4 separate regions of the Homo sapiens genome follow, and regions 2, 3 and 4 are each linked to region 1. Evidence: promoter capture Hi-C in human tissues and cell types (Jung and others, 2019). All regions are on one chromosome and are shown on one strand. The core of a region is centred on a gene start or on the middle of the fragment in contact, and the rest is flanking DNA. Distances in the headings are between cores, read along the strand shown.

Region 1 (3,302 bases), core at 181-2,680:
GGGTTTCACCGCGTTAGCCAGGATGGTCTCGATCTCCTGACCTCCTGATCCGCCCGCCTCGGCCTCCCAAAGTGCGGGATTACAGGCCTGAGCCACCGCGCCCAGCCTTTTTTTCTTTTGATAGGGTCTTGCTCTGTCGCCCAGGCCGAATTGCAGTGGGGCGATCACGGCTTACTGCACCCTCAACCTCCTGGCTTCCCAAAGCACTGGGATCACAGACGGGAGCCAACGCCCCGGCCAGTTTTTTCAACGTTGAGAGCCCTGGCCCCTAGATAGGACCCAGCATCCTCACTGCTCTAACCCCTCCCCCCCCACCATCCCCGGGCTGGCCCGGACAACCCCTAAGGTGGCCGAGGGCGGGCCCTGAGGAGGCCGGCGCGCGCTTCCGGGCACAGCTTGTGGCGGTGAAGCCGCTCAGATGGCGGAGGCCTTGGGTATCTCTAAGCAGATCGCTAGGCCGCAGACCTCGGAGCTCGTCTTGGGTCACTTTTATTTATTTTTTTTGAGACGGAGTCTCTCTCTGTCGCCCACGCTGCAGTGCAATGGCGCGATCTCGGCTCACTGCAAGCTCCGCCTCCCAGATTCAAGCAATTCTCTGCCTCAGCCTCCCGAGTGGCTGGGATTACAGGCGCCCGCCACCACGCCCGGCTAATTTTTGTATTTTTAGTAGAAACGGGGTTTCACCATCTTGGCCAGGCTGGTCTTGAACTCCTGACCTCGTGATCCACGCGCCTCGGCTTCCCAAAGTGTGGGAATTAAAGGCGTGAACCACCGCGTCCGGCTTGGGTCACTTTTCGAGTATACAGCTCCTCCTCTCTCCTTCCTCCCTAGGCCCCCACTGCCCCGACTCGCAGGCCGCAGACAAGGCTGAGAGCGCTACCTTGCTTTCCCGCGCTCGCCTCGGTGCCTACTGCGCCTGCGCGAGCTGTGAGGGCGGGACCCAGAGACACCCGCCCCAACTACTGGCGTGCGCCCTCTGCTGTCGCCTAACGGAACTCCGGGCGCGCGTGCGCACGCACCCCAAGCCACGCCCCGCCAGGCTGCCGGCGCGCGAGCGGTTGGCGCCGCTCCCTGCCTTCCCTCTCCTACAGTGGGGCGGGGCCGGGCCGCCCGAGTCGGGGGTGGAAGGCGGGGGCCACATAATGCCACGCCCCCGCCTCGTCCCCATTTGAAGCCCCGCGACTCTTCACTGCTGGTCAATCAGAGCCCGTGCTCTCCCTAGTGCCGGCCAATGGGAGGTGCGCTCGGGCTGCTTCCGGCTCCGCGCTCCGCTCGCCCCCTCCCAAGGTCTCCCCGCGACTGGCGGGACGCAGGGGCGGGCGTCGGCCGCGGTGACGCGCAGCGGGCCTGGAGCCAATAAGGGGCGGGCTCGGTGCTGATGGACGGTGCTGGTGGCCAGTGGAGAGGCGCTGGCCGCACTTCCCGTCGGGGAGAGAGTGTAATATGGCGAAGACCTACGATTACCTGTTCAAGCTGCTGCTGATCGGGGACTCGGGGGTGGGGAAGACCTGTGTCCTGTTCCGCTTCTCCGAGGACGCCTTCAACTCCACTTTTATCTCCACCATAGGTAACGGGACCGGGGAATGGCTGGGGGCGCCGGAGGCCCGGGCTGGGCGCGCCCCTGAGGGGCTGGGGCTGAGGGATCTACAGGGCTGGACGGGCCGAGGGCGCTGAGAGGGTCGAGGGGGCCTAAAGGGAGAAGAGCAGTCGCCTGCACCGCCGTTCGGGGGTTCCTGGGCCGTGGTGGGGGAGACCAGGTGCCCATTTTGCAGATAGGGAGACTGAGGCTCCGACCCTCAGCCCGCTCGTTAGGGCGTGTTATGTCTTGGGCTGGGGTCTTCGCGCCCGTCCTCTCGATCTGTCCTAGCAGCAGCCCTCGAAGCGGTTCTTTTGAGGCTCTTGCCTTACAGAAGTGGAAACTGAGTCATGGGGAATTGGCCATGGGAAAAAGACAGTGGCATCTCACCTTAATGAGCATTTACTATGTGCCAAGTGCTTCACGTGCATTTTCACACTCTTCAGTTCTTGGTGTTAAGTGCTGTTATGAGCCCGTCTGACAAGATGAGGAATCTGAGGCTCAGGGAGGGCATGGAACTTGCCCAAGGCCACACAGTCTGCACGTGGTGAGAATGGGATTTGATGGAATTTGAACCTGGCTGTGTCTCAACCCAAAACTCGAGGCTTAGCTCTCCTAGAGAGATGCCACTGCACACTCCCAGCTGATGACAAGCTCAGCTAATGCACCTTGGAGCCGGGACTCTAACCCACACCATTCCTGCTCTTTTCTCTGGAGCGTTCAGAGGTTGAGCCCCTCTCCCTGACCATGCTTCCCCTCATAAGCGTATTTTCCTCTAGAAGGAATGATAAGAAGAGTCAGGACCTTTTCCCTGCCCACCTTTCATCCTGCTCCAGGAATGACAGCAATGGCAAGTGACAGCACTGCCTGCCCTGGGACCTGTCATCCCCAAGAAGATGCAAGATAAAAGCCTCAGCGAGAAACTAAATCAGCCACTGCCACAGACAGCCTTGACTTCCCTATCAAAGGGCCCAAGACTCCAGCTGTCACTTTAGAACAGCTTTTCCTGTAGGGCCAGCCCACATTGTGGTTGAACAGAATTGGCTTGGTGCATCTCAGTTGTGATGTCCACAGAAGTGGAGCTGACCTCTCTCAGTGCCACAAAAGCAGTCCTGGCCCACAATGAAAAGGTTTGACCCAGGAGTAACACCTATTTGAGTGGCTTGTGAGCTCTGTAGCCCTGCTAGGGATGGGGAAAGTGGGGGAACGGTCACTAAGTCCAGGAGTTTATTCCGACTCAAGAAAACCTAGGGAATGGCCTTTGCTTTACTGTGTCACTTTGACAGAATCGTGTTATCTCCCTGAACCCCAAGATAATGTGCTAATTCCATTCTTGCCCTCCTCCAGGAGCTATGCTTTATTTATTTTATTTTATTTTATTTTTTGAGACGGAGTCTAGCTCTTTTGCCCAGGCTGGAATCCAGCGGCAGGATCTCGGGTCACTACAACCTCTGCCTCCCGGGTTCAAGCAATTCTCCTGCCTCAGCCTCCCTAGTAGCTGGGATTATAGGCACCCGCCACCACGTCCAGCTAATTTTTGTATTTTTAGTAAATACAGGGTTTCACTGTGTTGGTCAGGCTGGTCTCGAACTCCTGACCTTGTGATCTGCCTGCCTTGGCATCCCAAAGTGCTGGGATTACAAGCATGAGCCACCGCACCCAGCGGAGCTGTGCTTTATAAAACAGTTATATGCCAGATGTAAAATAGAGAGAATTGACTGGAAAT
Region 2 (3,217 bases), core at 209-2,708, 260 kb after region 1:
CGATGACCCACAGAGGACGCTGGAGCCCTCTTTGAAGTTCAACTCCCTGCACGCTTTTTTTAACGGAAAAGATTTCCACTAAACTGTGACCTCACAGGGAGAAAAGGGCCCAATTAATGACTCCCAGAATGTGTGCAGCCACCTCAGCTGCCCAGCCTGTCTTTCCTGGAAAAGGTGCCCATATGGCAGAAGCCTGCGTCCCGGTCCCTGTGCCGCAGGGTGGGGATGGGGGCTACAGACCACATACAGCACGTCACCGTGCAAGGCGCTTCACCCACACACCCACCTGCTAGGCCTGAGTGGGTCCCATGGTCAGGCAGGAAAACTGAGGCTCAGGGAGGTTAAGTGACCCACCCGGGGCCTCCCTTTCCTCCAATGTCCAGAAACCAGCCTGATCAAGCAGTCCCCTGGATTCTAGCAGAATTGGCTGCCCAGAGGACAGAAGGAAGCGGCCTCAGTTCTCCTGTCCTGGCCTCACACATCAGCCATTTCCTGGCACAGAGGCCTAGCAGGGTTCTAGAAACCTCTGGGTGCCCTGGGATGGACAAACCCTGGATGGGAGCATGGGACATCAGACATGTTCCATGTGCCAGGCGGAGAGATGACAGAAAAGCTTGTTCCTTCATTGTGATTTCCATGAGTGCAGGTGTCAACGCTGTGTGCATGTTTAAGACTGCCCACTGGACAGCCTATGGGTCCTTCAGACTTTTTGTCAGTCTGTCTATCTCCACCAGCTCAAGGCTCGACCGCCAGGCTCACAGGGGGTCGCATTTCACCTTCCTCCTCACTCAGCCACGCTGGGACCCACGCATCTCGCGCAAAGCCCCAGCATCTGGGAAGCCCTGGGGTGGCCAGGGGAAGGCGGCCGTCACTGTGTGCTGGCCGTGTGGTCTCCCTGAGCAGAAAAAGCCTGGGGTAGCAAGAAAGGCAGAAAGGCTTTTTTTGGTTTGTTTGTTTGTTTTAAGAAAACATAAAGTCCAGCAGTTTGAAAACGTTGGACTTTATGCTTAAAAAAAAAAAAAAAAATTCACAGATTAGCTTCACTATCTTCTGTCTTAAAGAAGCCAAGAAAACAAGAGATCTGCCTTGTGTCTTCCTGGCGAACTTTCTGAGCACGACTTCACCCGACACTCATCTGCTGACCGCTCTTGCCCATAACCAGAGGCCTCCTGGGCTGCACGTGGGTCTGTGCCGTGTGGCCAGGAACCGGGAAGGGAATTGTACAGAGCCCGGCTCTGATTCCCTTGACCAGAGAGCAAGGGTAGGGCAAGCATCTTCCTTTGCAATTCCCCAAAGAGCCAAACACTTCTCCCCAACATGTGACTCACCAAAGGTCAACCACTGGGTCAACTCAGTGTTTGGACTGTTAGAGGTTAGTACGGAATCACAGCACAAATAATGCTGCAAGCTCAAACGGCAACCACCACACGGTCTGTACCTACCACCCAGCAGCGAGTACAATGCAGAATTTTTCTGTTCAGCCATTGCTTCTGGGTAAAAGAATCAAATGAGAAATATTTAGGCCTCCACACAGATCTGCAGTTGCTCCGGACTTAAAATGCTGCGCGTGCATTGGCTGTTTTAGAGAATGTTCTGAAGCTCATGGCTTGGTTCTCGTTACTCCTGTCTTGGGGCAGGAGGCAGGTCACTGGGTGTAGACCTGGCCCTGCTGCCACCTTGCTGTGTGACCTTGGGGAGCCCCCATGACCTCCCTCCCCGCCTTTCCTCTTCCAGGAAATGGGCATGGCCTGGCCTGTCTCCCTCACGGGTCTTGCTGGGACCTAGTGAGATAAGAACTGTTCAAGCACTTCCTAAGGGCCCATCAATGTTAATATATTTCTGCAGAGCACCGAGTGGCACAGCAACCATCAACCACAGCAGAACAAAGATGCAGTGGCCTGTGCCACGAGTAAAGGAGCCCAGGACCCCCTGGGTCTCAAATTGTGCAACAGCTCCCTAAAAAGCCTGAACCCTGAAGCCAGGCCCAAGGAAGTCACCCAAACTCCCGTTATCAAACGTTCTACTTTTAACAAGCATTCTTTTCTGCTTTCGAAGCCCACAGTACACTAACAGCAGAAGCCAAGGTGGGGTGGGTAGGCTTGCAGAGGGAGACACGATGGGAGGTGATAACTGAGGGAAAGTTCAAAAGCAGACCCAGCGCCGGGTTTAGGTACGTGGGGAGGCGGGGGTGGCGGTTTCCATGAAACACTGAAAATGAAGCTTTGCACCTGTGAGCTGTTGAGTGGGATGGCTCCTCCTCAGGGCCCAGCAAATACGGCACTGCTCGGCAAGTGTGTGCACCCATATGAGAATACGTGCACATGTGTGTAAATGTGTGTACACGTATGTAAGCACAGAGTGTGCATGCCCGGGTGTGTATGAGCACACACGCACGCATATGTGTGTGCACGTTTGCATGCATGCATTATGCAATATCTGTGTAATGCTCACCTGTATTCATGTATATGTTCACATGTGAATATGTGCATGTCTCAATGAATGCATGCACATATATAAGCATGGAGGGTGTGCATGCCCAGCTGTTATCTATGAGAGCATGTGTGTGTGCAGGCATGCACAATGCAGTATGTGAGTGCATGCTGCTCATCTCTATGCATGCATGTGTGTACTGACAAGAGAATATGCACACATGTCCACAGATGCATATAAGCATGGAGAGTGTGCACGGAGGGGTGCATGGGAGAGTGCGTGTGTGCCTGCATATGCGTACATGCAGGCACATGCGAGAATACTCATGTGATGCAGTATGTATGTGAATGCATGCTCACCTGTATGCATGTGTGTTCATGTGCAAACAGGTGCATGCATGCATGTGTCTGCAGGCGTGGAGGATGTGTGTACACAGGGTACACATGTGCATGCAAGAGCATACACGTGTACGTGCACATACATGCATAAAAATACATGGCCGCACGTGGGAATGTGCACATGCATGTGTGCCAGCTGTGTGCATGCATTGTGATTATGCATATATGTGTGTGTGTGTGTGTGTGTGTGTGTGCTTCTGCTCCCATCTTTTAGGCAGAGTGAAGAGGCCCACTGCCGTTCCATCAGGAAGCCAACAAGGATCCCTGAAGAGCCACTGCCTCTGTGTAAGGCACAGGTGGCCTCTTGCAGATGGAAGGGAGTCCCTTTGTTGTTTTGTTTTTCCTCCTGATGGTAAATGTCTTTGATGTGTGGCTTACAGAAATGATCT
Region 3 (2,923 bases), core at 420-2,919, 300 kb before region 1:
CAGAGACTCTAGGGCTAAGCGTGGCTGTGGACAAGTCCTGCCACAGACATCCCTAGAGCAGGGTTTCCTGCCTTCAGCATTAGGGACGCTAGGGGCGAATCATTCTCTCTCAGAGGGGTGTCCTGTGCACTGCAGGAGACTGAGCAGCATTCTTGGTCTCCACCCACCAGATAGATACCAGCAGCACTCCCCAGTCACGACAATCAGAAATGTCCTTATACGTTGTCACGTGTCTCCTGGGTGACAGCATCACTCCATGGGCCAGGCCTGTCTTGTCTCTGAGACCCCATCTGGCCTTAACTCTCACCCATCCTGGCTCTCTCTTCTTAGTGAAGCTGTCTGGCCTCCCCTCTCTTCCACTTAAGCCACCACTTCCCTCTCTTTTCTCTCCATCTTCTCATCCCCAGCTCCTAACCATTCCCTCACCACCTGCTCCCATTGACGCCTCCCTTGTGTGTGTGTGTGTGTGTGTGTGTGTGTGTGTGTGAGAGAGAGAGAGAGAGAGAGAGAGAGAGAGAGAGAGAGAGAGAGAGAGAGAGACAGGGTATCCCTCTGTCACCCAGGCTGGAGTGCAGAGGCACAATCACAGCTCACTGCAGCCTTAACTTCCTGGGCTCAAGCAATCCTCCCACCTCAATCTCTGGAGTAGCTACAGGTGCCTGCCATTCCTGGCCAATTTTTGTATTTTTTTGTACAGACAGGGTCTCACTATGCTGCCCAGGCTGGCCTCAAACTCTTGGACTCAAGTGATCCTCCCACCTTGGCCTCCCAAAGTGCTGGGATTGCAGGCATGAGCCACTGCACCCGGCCCACCCTGATTCTTTACACCCTGGGGTGGTGGCTGGAGCTTCTGAACCCTGAATCCTCTTTCTCTCTTTTCTCCGCCTCTTCCCAATCCTTTTTCCGTAGACTTCTTGCCTGGACAGACCGAGAAGAGAGGTTAAAATCAAACCATCACCTTGGGTCACATTGAGCATTGGCTGTCTTCTCTCTGCACCTGTTACCTCCCCCATCCAAGGGACCTACCTCATGAGGCAGCAGGAGCTCTAAAGAAGGCAAGTCCTGGCTGGGCACGATGGCTCATGCCTGTAATCCCAGTACTTTGGGAAGCCGAGGCGGGTGGATCACGAGATCAGGAGTTCAAGACCAGCCTGTCCAGCATGGTGAAACCCCTGTCTCTACTAAAAATACAAAAAATTAGCCAGGCATGGTGGCACGCACCTGTAGTCCCAGCTACTCAGGAGGCTGAGGGAGAAGAATCGCTTGAACCTGGCAGGCGGAGGTTGCAGTGAGCCGAGATTGCGCCACTGCACTCCAGCCTGGGCTACAGAGCGAGATTCCGTCTCAAAAAAAAAAAAAAAAAAATAGAAGAAGGTAAGTCCTGCTAAGCAAACAGCACACTGACTAAGACGTGGTGAGTGGCCTCTGCCTGTCACCCACTGCCCTGTAGACTCACATTGCTAAAGGAGTAATATAAACAGGTGGTTTCTTGGAGTCCCTGGCAGGTGCTGGTTCCCCAGGTCTCTCCTGGTCAGGTGGCTGAGAGGGGAGGTGACTCACCTGGGACTCCAGGCATCTGCTTCTGCTTCATCCCAGTAGGAGGCTCTAGTTTGGAGTTTCTCCACAGGTGGGAGCTGACCAGGTGTGGGCTGCACCAAGCAGCCACACCAGCTGAGCCGGGGGCTTGACTGAGCCCAAATGCGATTATTTATCCCTCCCTGACTCCCTGCCCACCGGCTTCCCTCGCTGTGGTCCTACTGTCTCTGTCTCCGCTACAGGGATGCTGGGACCCCAGGGACCCTGCCAGAGAGGAGGCAACCTCAGGGAATCTGTATCCTCACTTTCCCATTCCCCCCGCCTGCCAGGGGTGAGTCAATTCCCTGAGCTTGTCAAGAGCTTGAGCAGAGTCTAGTGCTCTACAGATTTGGGGTTTGGGCCCATGACTGTTGAAATTGACAGGAGGGCAGCCCTGCCATTGCCCCCAGGGACTGCAGAGGCTGCCTTGATATGCCCCGTCACCTTCATTCTTCTCCAACTGGGTCATTTGCCCAACTAAATGTCCTTTAAAATAATTTTTTAAAACCAACACACACACACGTATTTGTTTTTATTTTTATTTTTTGAGACAGGGTCTAGCTCTGTTGCCCAGGCTGGAGTGCAGTGGTGTGATTATGGCTCACTGCAGCCTCAACCTCCCAGGCTCAAATGATTCTCCTGCCTCAGCCTCCTGAGCAGCTGGGAGTAAAGGTGCTTGCCACCACACCTGGGCTAAGTTTTAATTTTTCTGTAGAGATGGGGTCTCGCTTTGTTGCCCAGGCTGGTCTTGAGCTCCTTGGCTCAAGGGATCCTCCCACCTTGACCTCTCAAAGTGCTGGGATTACAGCTGTGAGCCACCATGCCTGGCCTGTTTCTTCTTATTATGTAATTGAAATGCTACATACAAAGCAGCAAACCATGCAATGGCCAGCCAGGCAATCGTGACGGTGAATTTAATGGGTATCCCTTCAGATCTTCATGAGCATGTAGGATGTGAAAACAATGCAAACCCATAAAATCAGAGTTCTGTTGTGCATTATTGTTGCTTTCGCTTCGTTCTGCTTTTGAGGTGAAATTCACATAAAATAATCAACCACTTTAAAGTATACAATTCCCTGGGATTGAATGCATTCACAATGTTGTGTGGCCGCCGCCTCTGTCTAGTTCCAAAATGTTTTCATCACCTAATACCCATTAGCAGCCACTCCCCTACCCCACCCAGTCCTTCAAAACCACCAATTTGTTTTCTGGCTCTGGCTCTATGGACTTACCTATTCTAGACATTTCATATAAATGGGACTATATACTACTATATATAACGATGCATTATGATTGCCCCTGTGAGTAGCCACGGCACTCCAGCCATTTTGTCAACACAAAAATGTCG
Region 4 (3,091 bases), core at 488-2,987, 500 kb before region 1:
ATAAACACTGGCTGATGTACAGTCAGTCTTAACAGGACCCATTTCCCATCCTGGTTGTTTTGAGTGAGACAAGCTATGTTGTGGAGCAAGAGTGCCCTAATGTGATCAAAAAATGATAAAACGAAGGAAAGTTTGTCTCTCCCCAACCCCCTAGAGAAACCATTCACAAAGATCCTATTTTACCCTGCCCTAGAATTCAACAAAAACCCTTACCTTAAATTTGTAGCAGTAGCTCTTATTCTGAGAACATCACTGCACCTCCTAGCCAAGGGGGAAAGCAGCTTCAATAAGGCAGAACTTTGCCTAAAACAGGAAGTTCGTTGATTTCAGGAGAAACTTATCTGTTGCATCCAGCAGGGGCATCCCAGTTGGGGGAACACGATGGATTCCGTGCATGAAGGTTGAAACCTGCTCAGGAAGGTCCAGGGTGACCAGGGAGGCCACTCTGAAACACTGATGACTACATCATTTTGTGGAGTGAAATTAAAGCTGCCGAGGCAGAAATACTTTGATAAGGGTTTATTTGAAGCCAAAGGTGAGGATCAACCCAGAAAGATGCACCAACACATTTGGATGTGTGCCAGAATCTTTTACAATTTGGAATGTTTTTATAAGAAAGTTTAGGAGAAGAGAAGGGAACTTCTTATATCAGAATTGTCTGTTTTTATTGGAGGGTATAATACAGAGGTCATAATGATTAGATACAGGTTATAACATACAGGCTAAAACATTTTGTATGTAAAACCATCAGTGAAACTTTATAAGAGAGGGCACAGTGGCTTATGCCTGTAATCCCAGCACTTTGGGAGGTTGAGACGGGCAGATCCCTTGAGGAGAAGCTCATCGCTCCTGAGGCCAGTAGTTCGAGACCAGCCTAGCCAATATGGTGAAACTCTGCTCTACTAAAAATACAAAAATTAGCTGGGCATGGTGGCACATGCCTGCAATCCCAACAACTCGAGAGGCTGAGGCAGGAAGGTTGCTTGAACCTAGGAGATGGAGGTTGCAGTAAGATGAGACTGCGCCACTGCACTCCAGCCTGGGTGACAAAGACCCTGTCTCAAAAAAAAAAAGAAAAGAAAAGAAAAACTTTATGATTTATAAATATAAAGCAAAACTTCATGGTTTAGAAACAAAGGATTGTGCTTTTCCATATCAGTGGAAAATCAGAACATCAACAGTTGGAAGAACTCATAAGATCTGAGTAATTAAAGATAAGATTTGAGGAACTCACAAGATTCTTTACTCAGGAACAGGATGTAACCCATGCATCAAGAGATCTTTTCCGGGGGCTAATTGGGACTAATGTGACTGGTAGGTTATCAGCAGAGACCACGTCTGTCTTGTTCAACCTGTGTCCCAGGTCCTAGCACCATGCCTGCTACCATTTAAGTGTTCATGTGAAGTTTGTTGTTGAGAAACTAATTACCTAAAAGTTAGAACTTGACCTTTGCATTTTATCGAGGAGGCTATGAGACTCAGAGGGTTACACAGCTAGTGAGTGGCAGAGCCTGGACTTGAACTCAGTTGTGCTGAAGCCAGAATGTGTTCCTTCCTGAGCATTCAAGGACAGGGAAGGTGAAACTCCAGCTAGTGGGCAGCCCGTGTGCTTGTTCTAGGGAGACTGCAGGCCGATTCCTGGGAGCTGGGTCTTCATGGTGACACAGTAAGAACAACTCACCTATTGGCTGGGCGCAGTGGCTCACGCCTGTAATCCCAGCACTTTGGGAGGCCGAGGTGGTTGGATCACTTGAGGTCAGGAGTTGGAGACCAGCCTGGCCAATATGGTGAAACCCTGTCTCTACTAAAAATACAAAAATTAGCTGGGTGTGGTGGCTCATGCCTGTAATCTCAGCTGCTCGGGAGGCTGAGGTAGGATAATCGCTTGAACCTGGTGGGGCGGAGGTTTCAGTGAGCCGAGATTGGCACCATTGCCCTCCAGCCTGGGTGACAAAGTGAGACTCTGTCTCAAAAAACAAAGCAAAGCAAAACAAAACAAAACGAAACAGAACTACTCACCTATGTTGTGGATCAACTGTGTCCCCACTGTACCAAATCCTTATTTATTTAAAAAAATTTGTTTTGGACCCTTTTCACAAGATGGTGCCGAAAGTGAAGAAGGAAGCTCCTGCCCCTCCTAAAGCCGAAGCCAAAGCGAAGGCTTTAAAGGCCAAGAAGGCAGTGTTGAAAGGTGTCCACAGCCACAAAAAGAAGATCCACACGTCACCCACCTTCCGGCGGCCGAAGACACTGCGACTCCGGAGACAGCCCAAATATCCTCGGAAGAGCGCTCCCAGGAGAAACAAGCTTGACCACTATGCTATCATCAAGTTTCCGCTGACCACTGAGTCTGCCATGAAGAAGATAGAAGACAACAACACACTTGTGTTCATTGTGGATGTTAAAGCCAACAAGCACCAGATCAAACAGGCTGTGAAGAAGCTCTATGACATTGATGTGGCCAAGGTCAACACCCTGATTCGGCCTGATGGAGAGAAGAAGGTATATGTTCGACTGACTCCTGATTACGATGCTTTGGATGTTGCCAACAAAATTGGGATTATCTAAACTGAGTGCAGCTGCCTAATTCTGAATATATATATATATATCTTTTCACCATATACATGCCTCTCTGTCAATTTCTGGTTGGGCTGGGAGGCCACACACAGACACTGACATGACAGGGCTTGGGCAAGACTCCTGTTCTACTTATCCTTTTGAAATATTCACCCTGCCACTCCACCATGTGTGATCACTCCAGAGATCTTTGTGACTAGAGTTAGTGTCCTAGGAAAACCAGAACTCAGAACTTGCCTCCATGGTTGAGGGTAACAAGAAGCTGTACAAGAACCCCTTTTATCCCTGGAAGAGGCTGTGTATGAAACCAATGCCCAGGGTTTGAAGGGCGTTAGCATCCATTTCAGGGGAGTGTGGATTGGCTGGCTTTCTGGTAGCATTTTGTCCTCACACACCCATCTACTGTGTCCAACCGGTCTGTCTGCTTCCCTCACCCCTTGCCCAATAAAGGACAAGGACTTCAGAGGAAAAAAAAAATTGTTTTAATTATTACATTTATAGCATCCCAGCTTGA

Evidence for each region. The method cuts DNA at HindIII sites, captures the fragments that hold promoters and counts their contacts. A contact is called where the count stands out against the background at its distance.
Region 2: a contact is called between a fragment that was not itself captured here and the fragment with the promoter of RAB8A in region 1, in 1 of the 25 tissues and cell types used here (spleen).
Region 3: the fragment with the promoter of OR10H1 here is called in contact with the fragment with the promoter of RAB8A in region 1 in 1 of the 25 tissues and cell types used here (liver).
Region 4: a fragment that was not itself captured here is called in contact with the fragment with the promoter of RAB8A in region 1 in 2 of the 25 tissues and cell types used here (dorsolateral prefrontal cortex and lymphoblastoid cells).

The regions. Positions count from the first base shown.
Region 1 is chr19:16,110,459-16,113,760 of GRCh38, forward strand. RAB8A (RAB8A, member RAS oncogene family) reads left to right here and starts at 1,431. Exons shown (of 8, transcript NM_005370.5): 1 at 1,431-1,567. The coding sequence starts at 1,444. RefSeq lists a silencer at 814-1,473. The HindIII fragment of the contact is 16,619 bases long and covers 1-3,302 here.
Region 2 is chr19:16,372,473-16,375,689 of GRCh38, forward strand. All of the region lies in intron 22 of EPS15L1 (epidermal growth factor receptor pathway substrate 15 like 1), which reads right to left. Among named protein-coding and RNA genes, the nearest start is that of KLF2, 49 kb to the left of the region's middle. The HindIII fragment of the contact is 3,944 bases long and covers 1-3,217 here.
Region 3 is chr19:15,813,995-15,816,917 of GRCh38, forward strand. It overlaps OR10H1 (olfactory receptor family 10 subfamily H member 1), which reads right to left and starts at 1,670. Exons shown (of 4, transcript NM_013940.4): 1 at 1,561-1,670. The HindIII fragment of the contact is 22,557 bases long and covers 1-2,923 here.
Region 4 is chr19:15,609,556-15,612,646 of GRCh38, forward strand. It overlaps the pseudogene RPL23AP2. Among named protein-coding and RNA genes, the nearest start is that of CYP4F8, 4.1 kb to the right of the region's middle. The HindIII fragment of the contact is 7,491 bases long and covers 1-3,091 here.